Regions from separate parts of the Homo sapiens genome. Here region 1 is linked to region 2. The links are contacts of gene promoters, found by promoter capture Hi-C in blood cells and fetal thymus (Javierre and others, 2016). All regions are on one chromosome and are shown on one strand. Each heading gives the region's core, a stretch centred on a gene start or on the middle of the fragment in contact. The rest is flanking DNA. Distances are from core to core; before and after follow the strand shown.

Region 1 (6,191 bases), core at 3,692-6,191, 1.8 Mb before region 2:
CTACTAAAAATACAAAAAGTTAGCTGGGCGTGGTGGCGGGTGCCTGTAGTCCCAGCTACTCGGGAGGCTGAGGCAGGAGAATGGCATGAACCGGGGGGGCGGAGCTTGCAGTGAGCCGAGATTGAGTCACTGCACTCCAGCCTGGGAAACACAGCGAGACTCTGTCTCAAAAAAAAAAAAAAAAAAAATTAAACATAGAATTATCATATGATCCAGCAATTCTACTTCTGAATTGAAAGCAGGGACTCTAATAGATATTTGCATACCCATGATCACAGCAGCATTATTCACAATAGCCAAAAACAGAAACAACTCAGGTCAATTGATGAATGAATGGGTAAGCAAAATACAGTATACACAAAAAGAAAATATTATTCAGCCTGAACAAATTCTGGGCCAGGCACGTTGGCTCCCGCCTGTAATCCCAGCACTTTGGGAGGCCAGGGTGGGTGCATCACTTGAGGCCAGGAGTTCAAGAACAGCCTGGGCAACATAGCAAAAACCCCATCTCTACAAAAAATTAAAAAATGAGGCCAGGCACAGTGGCTCACACCTGTAATCCCAGCACTTTGGGAGGCTGAGGCAGGTGGATCACCTGGGGTCAGGAGTTCAAGACCAGCCTGGCCAACATGGTGAAACCCATCTCTACTAAAAATACAAAAATTAGCCAAGTGCGGTGGCGCATGCCTGTAATCCCAGCTACTCGGGAGGCTGAGGCAGGAGAATTGCTTGAACCAGGGAGGGAGAGGTTGCAATGAGCCGAGATCACGCCACTGCACTCTAGCCTGGGCAACAGAGAAAGACTCTGTCTCAAAAAAAAAAAAGAAAGAAAAAGAAATTTTGACACATGCTACAACACAGGTGAACTTTGAAGGCATTATGCTAAGTGAAATAAGCCAGATAGAAAAGGACAAATATTGTATGGTTCAACTGGGAATAGTCAGATTCATATAGGCAGAACCAGCAGCTGGAGAGAGTGAAGAATGGAGAGTTACTGTTTCATGGGTATCAAGTTTCAGTTGATGAAAAAGATCTGGAAATGGATAGTGGTGGTGGTTGCACAACAATGTGAATGTATTTAACGCCACTGAACTGTATATTTAGATATGGTAAATTGCATGTTATATATATATATCTTATTATGATAAAAAAGTTAAGCAATTATAGCATTATGTAGCAAAATCAGAAAGAATTGAATAATTTTAAAAATTGGCAACAGGTCTTAGAGAAAAAGTATTTACATTCACTCTAAATATAAATCATTTGAGAAAGAAATGCCAAAGACTGGGAACCCTGAGCCTGGTCACTGTCTGCGCTGGTTCTGTAGAAGATGGAGTAGACTCAACCAGCCAGGGGTACTGGGTTGAGGGAAACAGGTGAGGAGAGTCAGAACTAAAGAACTCCATAATCGGTACCAAAACCGTTTTCAGGGGAGTAGACGAAGCTCTGGACTGTTTTACAATGTGTCCCTTTCTCAACCCAAATTCTAGAATATCTAATTAATTAAAAGTAAAGCCAAAGAGCAGGAGGATCACTTGAGCCCAGGAGACAGGTCTGGGCAACACGGTGAGACCTCACCTCTACAAAAAATTAAAAGATTAGCTGGGTCTGTTAGTGCACACCTGTATGATTCAAGCCTGTAGTCCCAGCTACTTGGGAAGCTGAGGTGGGAGGATCGCCTGAGCCTTGGAAGTCAAGGCTGCAGTGAGCCATGATTGCGCCACTGCACGACAGCCTGGTCAACAGAGGGAGAACCTGTCTCAAATTTTAAAAAATAATAAAACTAAAGACAAATAGACCAATAAAACCACATAAAGTCCAAAATTAAACCCTATGAATATACAGTTACCTATCTGTGACAAAAGTCCTAAATAGTGCTGAAGCAATTGGACATTCCTGTGGGAGAAAAAAATATGACTCCTACCTTGCACCAGACACAAAAAAATAAATTCGAAATAGATTGCAAATTTAAATGAGAAGAGTAATTCAATAAAGCATTTAGAGAAAAGAAGAAGAGAACATCAGTCTTAGAGTAAGGAGAGATTTCTTAATCGGGACATTAAAAGTACTCAAAAAAATTTTAATAAATTGAACTATATTAAAATTAATAATTTCTGTTCATCAGAAGATATCATTAAAAGTGAAAGGCATCCACAGAGTGGGAAAGAAATATGTGCAGTATATATTTCTGACAAAGAAATCATATCCACCTGTATAACAATATAATACAAGTTATTCTGTAAAGACCTTGCAAATCAATATTAAAAAGATAAACTTAATTTTTAAATGGGGAAAAAAATTTGACCCTTCACAAGATTTCCAAATGGCTAATAAACAAACAGGTGCTCAAATTCATTAGTTATCAGGAAAATGCAAATTAAAATTATTTGTATGATGAACACTATAACACACTTGCTAGAATGACTAAAATTAAAAAGGACAGAAAATATCAAGTATTGATAAAGATGAGTAACAACCACACCTCTGAGACTGTCAGTACTGGCGGAAGTGTACACTGGTACAACCACTTTGGAAAATTGTTTTAAAGTATCTACTAAAGATGAACAAATGCACACTCTTTAACCTAGGGATTCCATTCCTAGGGCTATCCCCAACAGAAATGCACAAACATGTCCACCAAAAGCTATGTACAAAAAGTTCATAGCCAGCCCGGCGTGGTGGCTCATGCCTGTAATCCCAGCACTTTGGGAGGCCAAGGCAGGTGGATCACCTGAGGTCAGGAGTTCAAGGCCAGCCTGGCCAGCATGGAGAAACCCCGTCTCTAATAAAAATAGAAAAATTAGCTGGGTGTGGTGGTGTGTGCCTGTAATCCCAGCTATTCAGGAGGCTGAGGTAGGAGAATCACTTGAATCCCGGAGGCAGAGGTTGCAGTGAGCCGAGATTGTGCCACTGCACTCCAGCCTGGGAGACAGAGCGAGACTCCATCACAAAAAAAAAAAAAAAAAAAAAATATATATATATATATATATATACACACACACACACACACACACACACATATATACATACACATATATATACACATATATATATTCATAGCCAAAACCTAGAAACTACTGAAGTGCCCATCAACAGTAAAATGAAAAATAAATTGTGCTATAGTCACACAACTACTGCACCGAGAATGAATTATAACCACATACAACATGGAGAAATTTCACAAACATTGTACAAGAAACTGGACACAGAAGAGTATATACGGTAAGATTCCATTTACATAAAGTTCAAAACTAAGCAAAAACTAATCTATGATATTAGAAGCCAGGGCAACGTTTACCCTTGGTGGAGGAGAAAGTAATTGGAAGAGGGAAAGGAATCAGTCTCTGGGATCCTAGTAAAATTGTGTTTATTTATTTATTTTTTTATAATGGTAGAGATGGGGATTCACTATGTTGCCCAGGCTGACCAGTCTCAAACTCCTGGTGGATTCAGGAGTACACAGGCGTGTTTAGTATGAAATGATCTGAAGGGTACATGTATGATTACATGAACTTATCTCTGTGTATTTTAGCTTCAATTATAAAAATTACAACTAAATGTGTACCAAATTCCACTAACTCAAATTCCACCAGCTCAGACTTTATATGTCCTCTTTATTCAAAGTATGACTTCCAAAGTGATTCTCAATTTTCAAGATCAGTGAGTACACAAATTAGATAATTCTAAAGCAGAATTTTTTCACCTCAAACCAAGTGTGACTGAATCGTAGACAACTTAGGAGAGGCGTAAATATAAACATAAAAAATTGACATATTTTACAACAGTTATGAAAACACAGATAAACCCAATTACAATACATTCTAGAGCATCATGAAAAGATAAAAACATCAAAGTAGACTTTCCAAGGTCAAGTCCGCTTCCTGACTCCTGCCAACAGCACACATGGAACATGGGCCAAAAAAGAAGCTGCTTCCCTAAGAAGTTGCTTCCATAGCAAAATGGACTTTTGCTGAGGTCCTCACTCCCAAAAATAACCAATATTCTCATCCCAAACGGTAAGGTTTCGAACTCAACCCACGTGGGGGCTGGGGGAGATGAAAGAGGGATGGAAACGTGAGGCGCCAGGAGGGCAGGAGGTGTTGACCGGGACAAGGTAACCGGCCGGGTCCAAACGCGAGAGGCGGGCGGGCTCCGCGCAGCCCGGCCCTTCCCGGACCCGCCGGGCCCACCCAGGCTCTCCGGGACGCCTGCGCATCCACCTGCCTACCTGGCCTGGCGGCGGAGCGCGGGGGCGCGCACTGGCGGGGCCGCCGTCCACACCCCGAGGCGCGAGCCGCACACCCGCCCAGAGAGGAAGCCCCTGGGGTCCCAGAGCGCGGCGCGCACCGCAGCCCTCCCCGCGGGAAGGGAAGGGCAGCACCGAGGCCGCGGGGCGGGGGCGGGGTCGGGGCTCGAACGGAGGGAGCGCGAGGGGGCAGGGGAGGCAAGAGCGGAGCGGGGGGGCAGGCAGAGGAAGCGAAGGGGAGGGGAGGGGAGAGGAGAGGTGGGGAGGGAAGGGGAGGGGAGGGGAGAGGAGGGGTGGGGAGGGAGAGCGGCAGAGGCCGGGGCGGGAGGCGCGAGGCGAGGCCCGGAGGTGAGGGGTCCGGGGACCGGGGGCCCGGGGGCGGGGACGGAGGGCCCGGGCGGGCACGCGGGACTGTCAGGGCTGCCTCGGTCCCCACGCACCGTGGACTCCCGCACTTGGCTGTGGAAGTGCTGCTCCCGCGCCGACACCTCGTCCTGCCCTTCCATCCTCCTTCATGCCCGCCGCCGCGCCGCCCGCGTCCGCGTGCTCCGCCACACCATCGTCCGCCCGCCGCAGGGGCTCGGACAGCCGCGCCGGGGACCGGAGCCGGCACGGGCCCGCGAGCCGTGTTGGAACAGGTACCGCGACCACGACACCGGCCGTCGCCTCAGCAGCCTCAGACGAGCAGCTCTGACTAAGGGAGGGCGGGCGCCGCGCAGTCGGGGGCGGGGCGGGGGCGGGGCAGGGAGGGGAGGGGGCGGTGCAGGCATACGTCAGACGAAAGGCGCCGATGCGTCAGAAAAGCGCGCCTCGCGGTCTTCCGAGCTGCTGGGCCGGGAGGCGCTGAGGGGGCGGGGCCTTGAGGTCGCGGGGCGGGGCTCCGCCCACGCTCTCAGGGGCTACCCCAGTTAAGGAGGCGCTGTCCTGGCGTCGGATGGGGACGGGGAACGCGGCGAGGGCGCTGCGACCTCTGCCCACCTGGCCCGGCCGCAGTCTCGGAGTTCCTGTTCCTCACAGGAGCTAATTATTTATGACAGCTGCATGGTTCCCCTCCCCCAGTTACTCAGTGCTTGGCACTCGGCACCCCTTACTCAGCACTCAGTACCGCACTCGGCCTCAGGGGACCTGGGCAGAGGGAAGCAGGGAGTCTCCCGCGGAAACTCTTGCTCTGCCAAAGTAGGTTGAAAGGTCGGAAATCGGTGGTTTGGGGCCGGGCTTTGGGCGGAAACCCAGCTTCTCTGGGTCTGAGAAGGGTCTTGGGCTGCCCCACCTGGAAAACGCAGATAACCGAGCTCGCTAGACCCTTGCCAAGTCCTTCCGGTAGCTCGGTCACTAGGGTCAGTTTTATGACTCTCAGTGGACCCTAAACAGCACGTAATATATGTATTTTTCACCGCCAAATATATCAAACACAATAATTCACCCTCCGTTCCCTATTATCTTTCTTTTTGTTATAAAATTTGAATTTAAGGGAATGTTTATAATTTTACCTTAGGATTTATTTGGCTACGAGGAAGTCATTTAAATTGCTAGTGGCTGCGATTTTTGTTTTTGGCATCTTTGAGAATTCTTAGGAAGTGTGAAAATCTACAAATTGCTTTCAAATGTCATTTAGTTTTTGTTTTTGTTTTTTTTTTTTTTGAGACAGAGTTTCACTCTTGTCGCCCAGGCTGGAGTGCAATGGCGATCTCTGCTCACAACAACCTCTGCCTCTTGGGTTCAAGTGATTCTCCTGCCTCAGCCTCCCGAGTAGCTGGGATTACAGGCGCCCGCCACCACGCCCAGCTAATTTTTGTATTTTTAGTAGAGACGGGGTTTCACCACGTTGGCCAAGCTGTTCTTGAACTCCTGACCTCAGGTGATCCGCCCACCTCGTCCTCCCAAAGTGCTGGGATTACAGGCCTGAGCCACCGCGCCCGGCCGTTGTTTAGATTTTTATGAATCT
Region 2 (6,719 bases), core at 1,673-4,172:
CGTCTCACGTTTTTCCATGACAGATGGCACTGTTCAAATGGCATTTATTTTGTAACCCTAATGGAAAACACAATCATACTGAAACACTTGCAAATATATCTTTTCCTGTAAGATTTAATTTGATATTAACATCCAAGAACTGCAAGAAAATTCCTCAACCACGTATGGCAGACAGTTTCTAAAAACATTCTGACATAAAACACGCTATAATATCTGAAAAACAATTTACTTATTTCCTTTACTGGGGATGTGAATAACATGATATTAATGATATTTTATCAACAATTGTTAATAAAATTACCAACTAAGGAGGGAGAAATCCAAATAGCCTTAGGAAGCTCACCACCATCTCTCCCTTTTTAGTACCTTAGCAAGATGCTGGCTCGGCAGAGCTGAGTTGATTCAACAAAAGAACAATCTGATCCCAGCTGCAGATTCTGAAGATGCTCCCTTTCTAAAGGCCATTCCTCCATCAAAAAAATCCCACTGTTAGTGTCATCTTGTTATTCAAAGTGAGATGGAAAACAGTGGCCCCGGGGGTCACCTGGGATCTTGTTAGACTATGCATTAGGCATGCTCAACCACAGCACCCTCCTCCCACCCCTTCGGGATAATGAGAGCTCAGGGGACTTTGTATACCCTCCATCCTGCCTGTGTTTTTCCAGGAAATTCTATTTCGCATTCACAATACCTGGTGCTACTGGTGCCCTACTGAAAAAACATCAACCTAAAGATGAGGTAATAGCAAATGATGGAACACATTTGCAGTAGGAGCCCCCTCACTTTAAAAATAAATGAAAACCACCTGCACCATTATAAATAGAGCAATATGGAAAATTATTGCCAATAATTATGGGGACAGAGAGTCATCTTAAACATATAATACTAGATTTTAATGTCCAAATTGAACAAAGCAAAAATAACCTCAGTTTAATGACTCCCGAAATAAGTTAACAGTGAAGTCTGGTCATCTCATTCCTCAACTCAAATGGCTGAACTATGAACTACGGTCATGGACCACATAACATTTCAGTCAACAACAGACCACATGTATGACCGTGGTCCCATAAGATTATAATGCCATATTTTTACTGTGCTTTTTCTATGCTTAGATATGTTTAGCGATGCAAATACTTGCCATTGTATTACAGTTGCCTACAGTATTCAGTACAGTAACATTCTAGGAGCAGTAGGCTACACCATACAGCCTATGTGTGTAGGCTACACCTCTAGGTGTAGGCAAGTCCACTCTGTGATGTTCATGCAATGATGAAATTGCCTAACGACAACGTGTCTCCCTCTTTAAATCAAGCATGACTGGCACATTTTTCACTGACAAAGAAAATGGGGAGGGAAGGGAGAGTGGCCAGTAACAAGCATAATGAATAGTGGCTAGGACAAATTCATGATTTTAGAAAAATAATCCAATAAGGTGCAGCAAACACATGGAATCATACATCTTCGCCCGGCAAGTCTGTGAACACTCTCCACTTTTTCATAGTTCTGGTCACTTTTCTTGTTTGCTCTATTTCCAAGTGTACCTCTTTGGCATGTTAGTCCAACTTACAGTAATACACTTCCTCTAGACTACCAAACTTATTCCTATATTTCCCATTTTCCCTCTTATATTAGTGACTGTAATTTTTTAATGGTTAATTTTTCAATCTATCTCCCAAAGTGGCAATATTCCATGTTTCTTGTACCATATGTGCATAAGACCTCAGCCCTGCAGCCAGAATGCTACTTTCAAGGTAAGGAGTCATCTCACCATCCAGTTATCAGTCCGAAGAGCAGGTTACTCTTCGCACAGGAGGTCTGGTACTAAATCAAGATGAGCATTAAAAAGAAGAAATCCCTGTTACCTTCTCACCACCTGTGACTTCCCACTCCGTCCCCAAACTCCTTCCTCATGGACACAACAAGAGGCACCAAACCAGCAACAAGAGTTCAGGAGACTGATGTCTCTGAGGACAATGCCCACGTCCACAGCTGGGGAGATACTCTCTGAGGGCAGTGCCTACACCCAGGGCTCAGGGGGACTCTCTCTAAGGGCAGTACCGACACCCAGGACTGAGGGGACTCTCTCTGAGGGCAGTTCCCATGCCCAGGACAGAGGGGGTCGCTCTCTGAGGGCAGTGCCCATGCCCAGGACTGAGGGGACGCTCTCTGAGGGCAGTGCCCATGCTCAGGACTGAGGGGGTCGCTCTCTGAGGGTAGTGCCCATGCCCAGGACTGAGGGGACGCTCTCTGAGGGCAGTGCCCATGCCCAGGACTGAGGGGGTCGCTCTCTGAGGGCAGTGCCCATGCTCAGGACTGAGGGGGTCGCTCTCTGAGGGTAGTGCCCATGCCCAGGACTGAGGGGACGCTCTCTGAGGGCAGTGCCCATGCTCAGGACTGAGGGGGTCGCTCTCTGAGGGTAGTGCCCATGCCCAGGACTGAGGGGACACTCTCTGAGGGCAGTTCCCATGCCCAGGACAGAGGAGGTCGCTCTCTGAGGGCAGTGCCCATGCCCAGGACTGAGGGGACACTCTCTGAGGACGGTGCCCATGCTCAGGGCTGGGGGGTCGCTCTCTGAGGGCAGTGCCCGCGCCCGGGGCTGGGATTTTCCTCCGACACGGACAAGAAGGACGGGCGTCGCTGAGCTGGGTAGGGGGGATGGCCCGGGGTCGCCAGTTCCGTCCAGTTCCGTCAGAGGCAGCACTGCCCGCACGCAGGTCGGCCGCCTCCTTAGGGGAGGGGAGGCTGGGACCCCGACCAGCCGAGGAGGGGCTTCCCGCCCGATCCCTGCTACTTCCCAGCCCCTGCTCTGAACCCAATCCCGGCTCGGCACCGCAGCTCTTACCTGGGCTCGGGGACCCGCCGTTTCCCGCGCTCGGACCAGATTCAAACGCACCCGCCGGCGCCCCAGACGGGCCCCGCCCTCCCGGTCGTCATCAGGCGCCGCTCTCGCGAGAGCTGGGGCGCCGCGAGCCTCGGGCCTCGCCCACACGCCCGGCCCGCCCCGCCTCCAGATCATGCCCCGCCCACATGCCCGCCAGTCTTCTTCCTGTCTATGCCCCGCCTCTTAGGGCGCGGCCTCGAGCAGCTAAGCCCAGTGCCCTACCGGGCACTACGGAACGCGCACGCGGGGCGCCACAGCTGGGGAACCCATGCCCGGTCCGCGCGCCGACGTCCACTGCGCGCTCGTGCGCGTCCTGGGGCCTCCGCGGAGGGAGTGCGCGGTCCAGGAGAGGGCGGGGCGCTGCGAGCGGGCGGTGTTGTGGGAAGGAGGAAGGAGAGGAAGAGAGAGAGGGGGAGAGAAAGGAAAGGCTTGGGGCGGGGAGAGGCCACAGGGCCGTGTCTGGATCCCCGGGAGGACCCCACCCCGACCTGGCCGGCCCCCGTGACCGCCCTCCCTGCCGAGGGGGCACCTGTCCGGGTGGTCCGCAGCCTGCACACGGTAGGTGCACCCTGGGCAGGTGCTTCCCCCGCAGGAGCCCCTCCGGCCAGGTGCGGCCCCTAACAGGTGCTTCTCCTGCAGTTGCTCCTCCAGCAGGTGAGGCCCCCGGCAGGTCAGCTGCCCATAGGGTGGAGAGGGAGAGGCCTTAGCGGGGACCCTCGGAGGCACCCGTGTGAAGGAGGAGTAGCAATGTCATTCAATTCTTTGGACTTAAATGCCAAAATCACATACTGATGTATCAATCTCTTTTAATTTGTGTCAGCGAATAACTTGATTGGGCGTTCCCAATTTTTGTTGAAAGCAAATTCTTAGAAAACGGTGCTCTTTACCACCGAGCTCTGCATCCCTTCGTGAGGACTTGGCCTTCCCTGGAGCTATATTCTTTCATGCTTGAGATGTCTAGAGTGGTATCTGTTTTCCTGGCTTAACTCAAGCCAGAGGTCTTGGCGAGATTGAAGTCGTTGCACTGTGGGAGCACAGCACCAACCAATAGGAACATCATGGGAGCCACAAGTGCACTTGTAAATTTCTAGTGACCACATTAGAAAAATGAAGATAAATAGGTGACATTAATTTTTAAATATGTTTTATTTAGCCTAGTATATCAAAAATATTTATGTTACTTGTTGGAATATCGTTTCAACAAGCAATATAAAATTATAGCAGGGAGAAGACTGGTTTACTAGGAAGCTTGCAACAGTGAAGCAAGGCAGGCTGCAGAGGGGAGGGAGAAGACCCACTCAGAGGATGCTGAGTCTGGGACCCTTGTCAACAGGTGGCCGATATCTAACATTGCCTATTTCATCCTGGGGCTCCAGCCACCTCTGACCTCCTCCTCCCTCCATACACAGATCCTTCCCTGCCATTTCTTGAATTTTGGTGCCCTCATCTTCTCACTGCTTTCTTCTTAGCAATTTCCTTCATATCCAAGGTGCAAACTGCCACCTTCAAGCAGTGACCTCTGCATCTGGATTTGCAAGACACGGTTATTTCTGAACTCCAGAATTTTCAACAGCTCACTGCCTACTCCCACGCTGGTGCTGACATGCATCCAAAACAGATATCGACTTCCCCTCCCACCCCTGAATCCTGCCCCTTTCCTTATGCTGGTCCCTCCTCCAATCAGCCATCTGTTCCTGGGGTTTCCACTTCCTGAGTAGGAATAATGTAACAAGTTACGCATGTGAGCTCTGAAGCTGTACCACCTGGGCTAACCTGGTTCTGTGCTCACTAGCTGGTGACCTTTGACAAGCCATGGACGACTGAGCCTCAGTTTCCTCATCTATCAAATGGGACCTACTTAAGTACTGAGCCTCCTCTAGGGGGTTGTTATGAGGCCTAAATGTCTGTATAATGCAGAGCTCAGCCTCCTCTAGGGGGTTGTTATGAGGCCTAAATGTCTATGTAGTGCAGTGCTCAGAGGCACGTGGAAGCAGGGCAGCAGGAGCGCCCAGTGCACCCCCAATGCACCTGCCCATGCAGCCACTAATGTCATAGGATCCTTTGGGTATCGCTTCACCAGCTAGAAACCTCCGTGGCCAGCGGTGCCTCTGCTAGAGTTTTGCTCGAGCCCACTCAGCCCAGCAGGTTGCACTCGGCTTGCACTACCAACCCAGATCCCACGCCTGCCAAGGGTGAGCCAGGTGCAGAGCGGCAAGGGGTATGTGAGCAAGCGAGCATGGGGTCCAACCACTGCGCACACCCAGCCATGCAGCTGCTGTGGTGGAGCAGGCAGCTCTAGGTGCCTGCACAGCTGCCGGCTCCATGCAAGGCTGTGGCTGGACCAGAGGTACCACAAGTGGCTTCCACTGCAGGCATCAGCATCTGGACAAGGGGAACATGGTGGCACCCGAAAGCTCACAGATGCCAGGAGCCACAGAGCCCCAAAGGGGGGTTACACTGTGTCACAGCCCTGGCTCGGGGAGCCCCGAGGTCTGGGCTCCCAGAAGGGCCACAGCTCTTCTGTCCTTCTCATCACCCACAGCGTGGCTAGCAGGGGGTCGTGTTTCCGGGGCGGCATGTTTCACCTCATTTGTGTTACAGGTCTTTTGGTCCTGCCGCCCCACACCGGTCCACGGCTCCTTGGCTGTCCCGGCCCCACCGCTGCTTCCCACTGCATGGGGTGGCCACTGGGCGCCAGCAGAGGGTGGGAGGGCTATAGCATTATAGCTCTGGCTTGGGGAATCCCAAGGCCTGGGCCTCTACAAGGGTCACCACTCTTCACTCCCTCAGTCTGGGAGCGTGTCACCACCCGCAGCTCAGCGACCCGGCCAGGAACCCGTTACAGCCACTTTGGCTCCCACCTGCAACTTGGCAAGCTGGCCAGGAAAGTATTACAGCTCGTTTTGCTCTCACCATTCAGCAGGTTCCAAGTTCTTGTCCCATGTCCAGGAAGAATGAGGTTTGGCAGACATCTGGAGGGTGAGCAAGGCAGAGAACAGCTGACCAAATAGCTCTCAGTGGAGAGGAGACTCGAAGTGGGTAGCTCCTATCCACAGGCACGTATGGGCTCAGAATGGAGGAAGTACATGTTGATTGGTCCATAGACAGGAGGAAGTGTGTGCTGATTGGCCCATGGGCAGGCCTGGAAAAAGCACTACTTGATTGGCTGAAAGGCATCAAGTAAGTTCTCTTTCTGGATCTCGGACTTCACCAGGAACTGGCATCCTGGCCCAGGAACTTCAGGCTGTCCCTGGCTTGAAAGTGGGGTTTCACCAGGGACCTGCCCCTTCCCACCCAGGAACCTGTCTGCCTCCCGCTGCCATCACCGTTCACTGGGAATGTGACCTTCCCCGCAAATAGATGACACTCCTCCAGAACTCAGCTCAAGCTTTACCTTCTATAGGGGTTTATTTCCTGAACCCCATAACCCTCACTGTAATGCAATCTCTTAGCCCCCTACCACAGGCCTCATCATCTCCTCCATGTCAAGCACTGTGTCATCCTTAGTCCTATATCCGTGGCGTAAGGCCTGGCACATTTTAGATGCTTGAAGAAAATATTTTCTGAATAAATGAATGAATGAGGCATGAGATCATCTGTGTTCTTAAAATCTTACAATGTGGTAAATTAGAAAAGGTTTATAGAATTAAAGGTGGACCACATGGCAAGGCAATATAAAACTAAGTTTCAAAGGGTATAAAACTTGGCAAAAATATCTTTGATAAAAATATAATATCTTTTTTTTTTTTTTGAGACATAGTCTCGCTCTGTTGCCCAGGCTGGAGTACAGTGGTGCTATCTCGGCTCACTGCAAGCTCTGCCTCCCAGGTTCACGCCA

The links. Contacts are between HindIII fragments. The CHiCAGO score rates a contact against its expected background, and 5 or more counts as called.
Region 1: the fragment with the promoter of LMBR1 here is called in contact with the fragment with the promoter of NCAPG2 in region 2 in 1 of 17 cell types (neutrophils); the score reaches 7.4 in neutrophils.

The regions. Positions count from the first base shown.
Region 1 is chr7:156,888,242-156,894,432 of GRCh38, forward strand. LMBR1 (limb development membrane protein 1) reads right to left here and starts at 4,942. Exons shown (of 17, transcript NM_022458.4): 1 at 4,687-4,942. The coding sequence starts at 4,752. It overlaps LOC102723795 (a long non-coding RNA gene), which reads left to right and starts at 5,157. Exons shown (of 4, transcript XR_928253.3): 1 at 5,157-5,422. RefSeq lists silencers at 4,034-4,533, 4,584-5,163. The HindIII fragment of the contact is 17,725 bases long and covers 1-6,191 here.
Region 2 is chr7:158,701,882-158,708,600 of GRCh38, forward strand. NCAPG2 (non-SMC condensin II complex subunit G2) reads right to left here and starts at 2,923. Exons shown (of 28, transcript NM_017760.7): 1 at 2,843-2,923; 2 at 1-57. The coding sequence starts at 18. RefSeq lists an enhancer at 1,684-2,262 and silencers at 2,840-2,939, 3,090-3,179, 3,300-3,579. The HindIII fragment of the contact is 5,779 bases long and covers 1-4,127 here.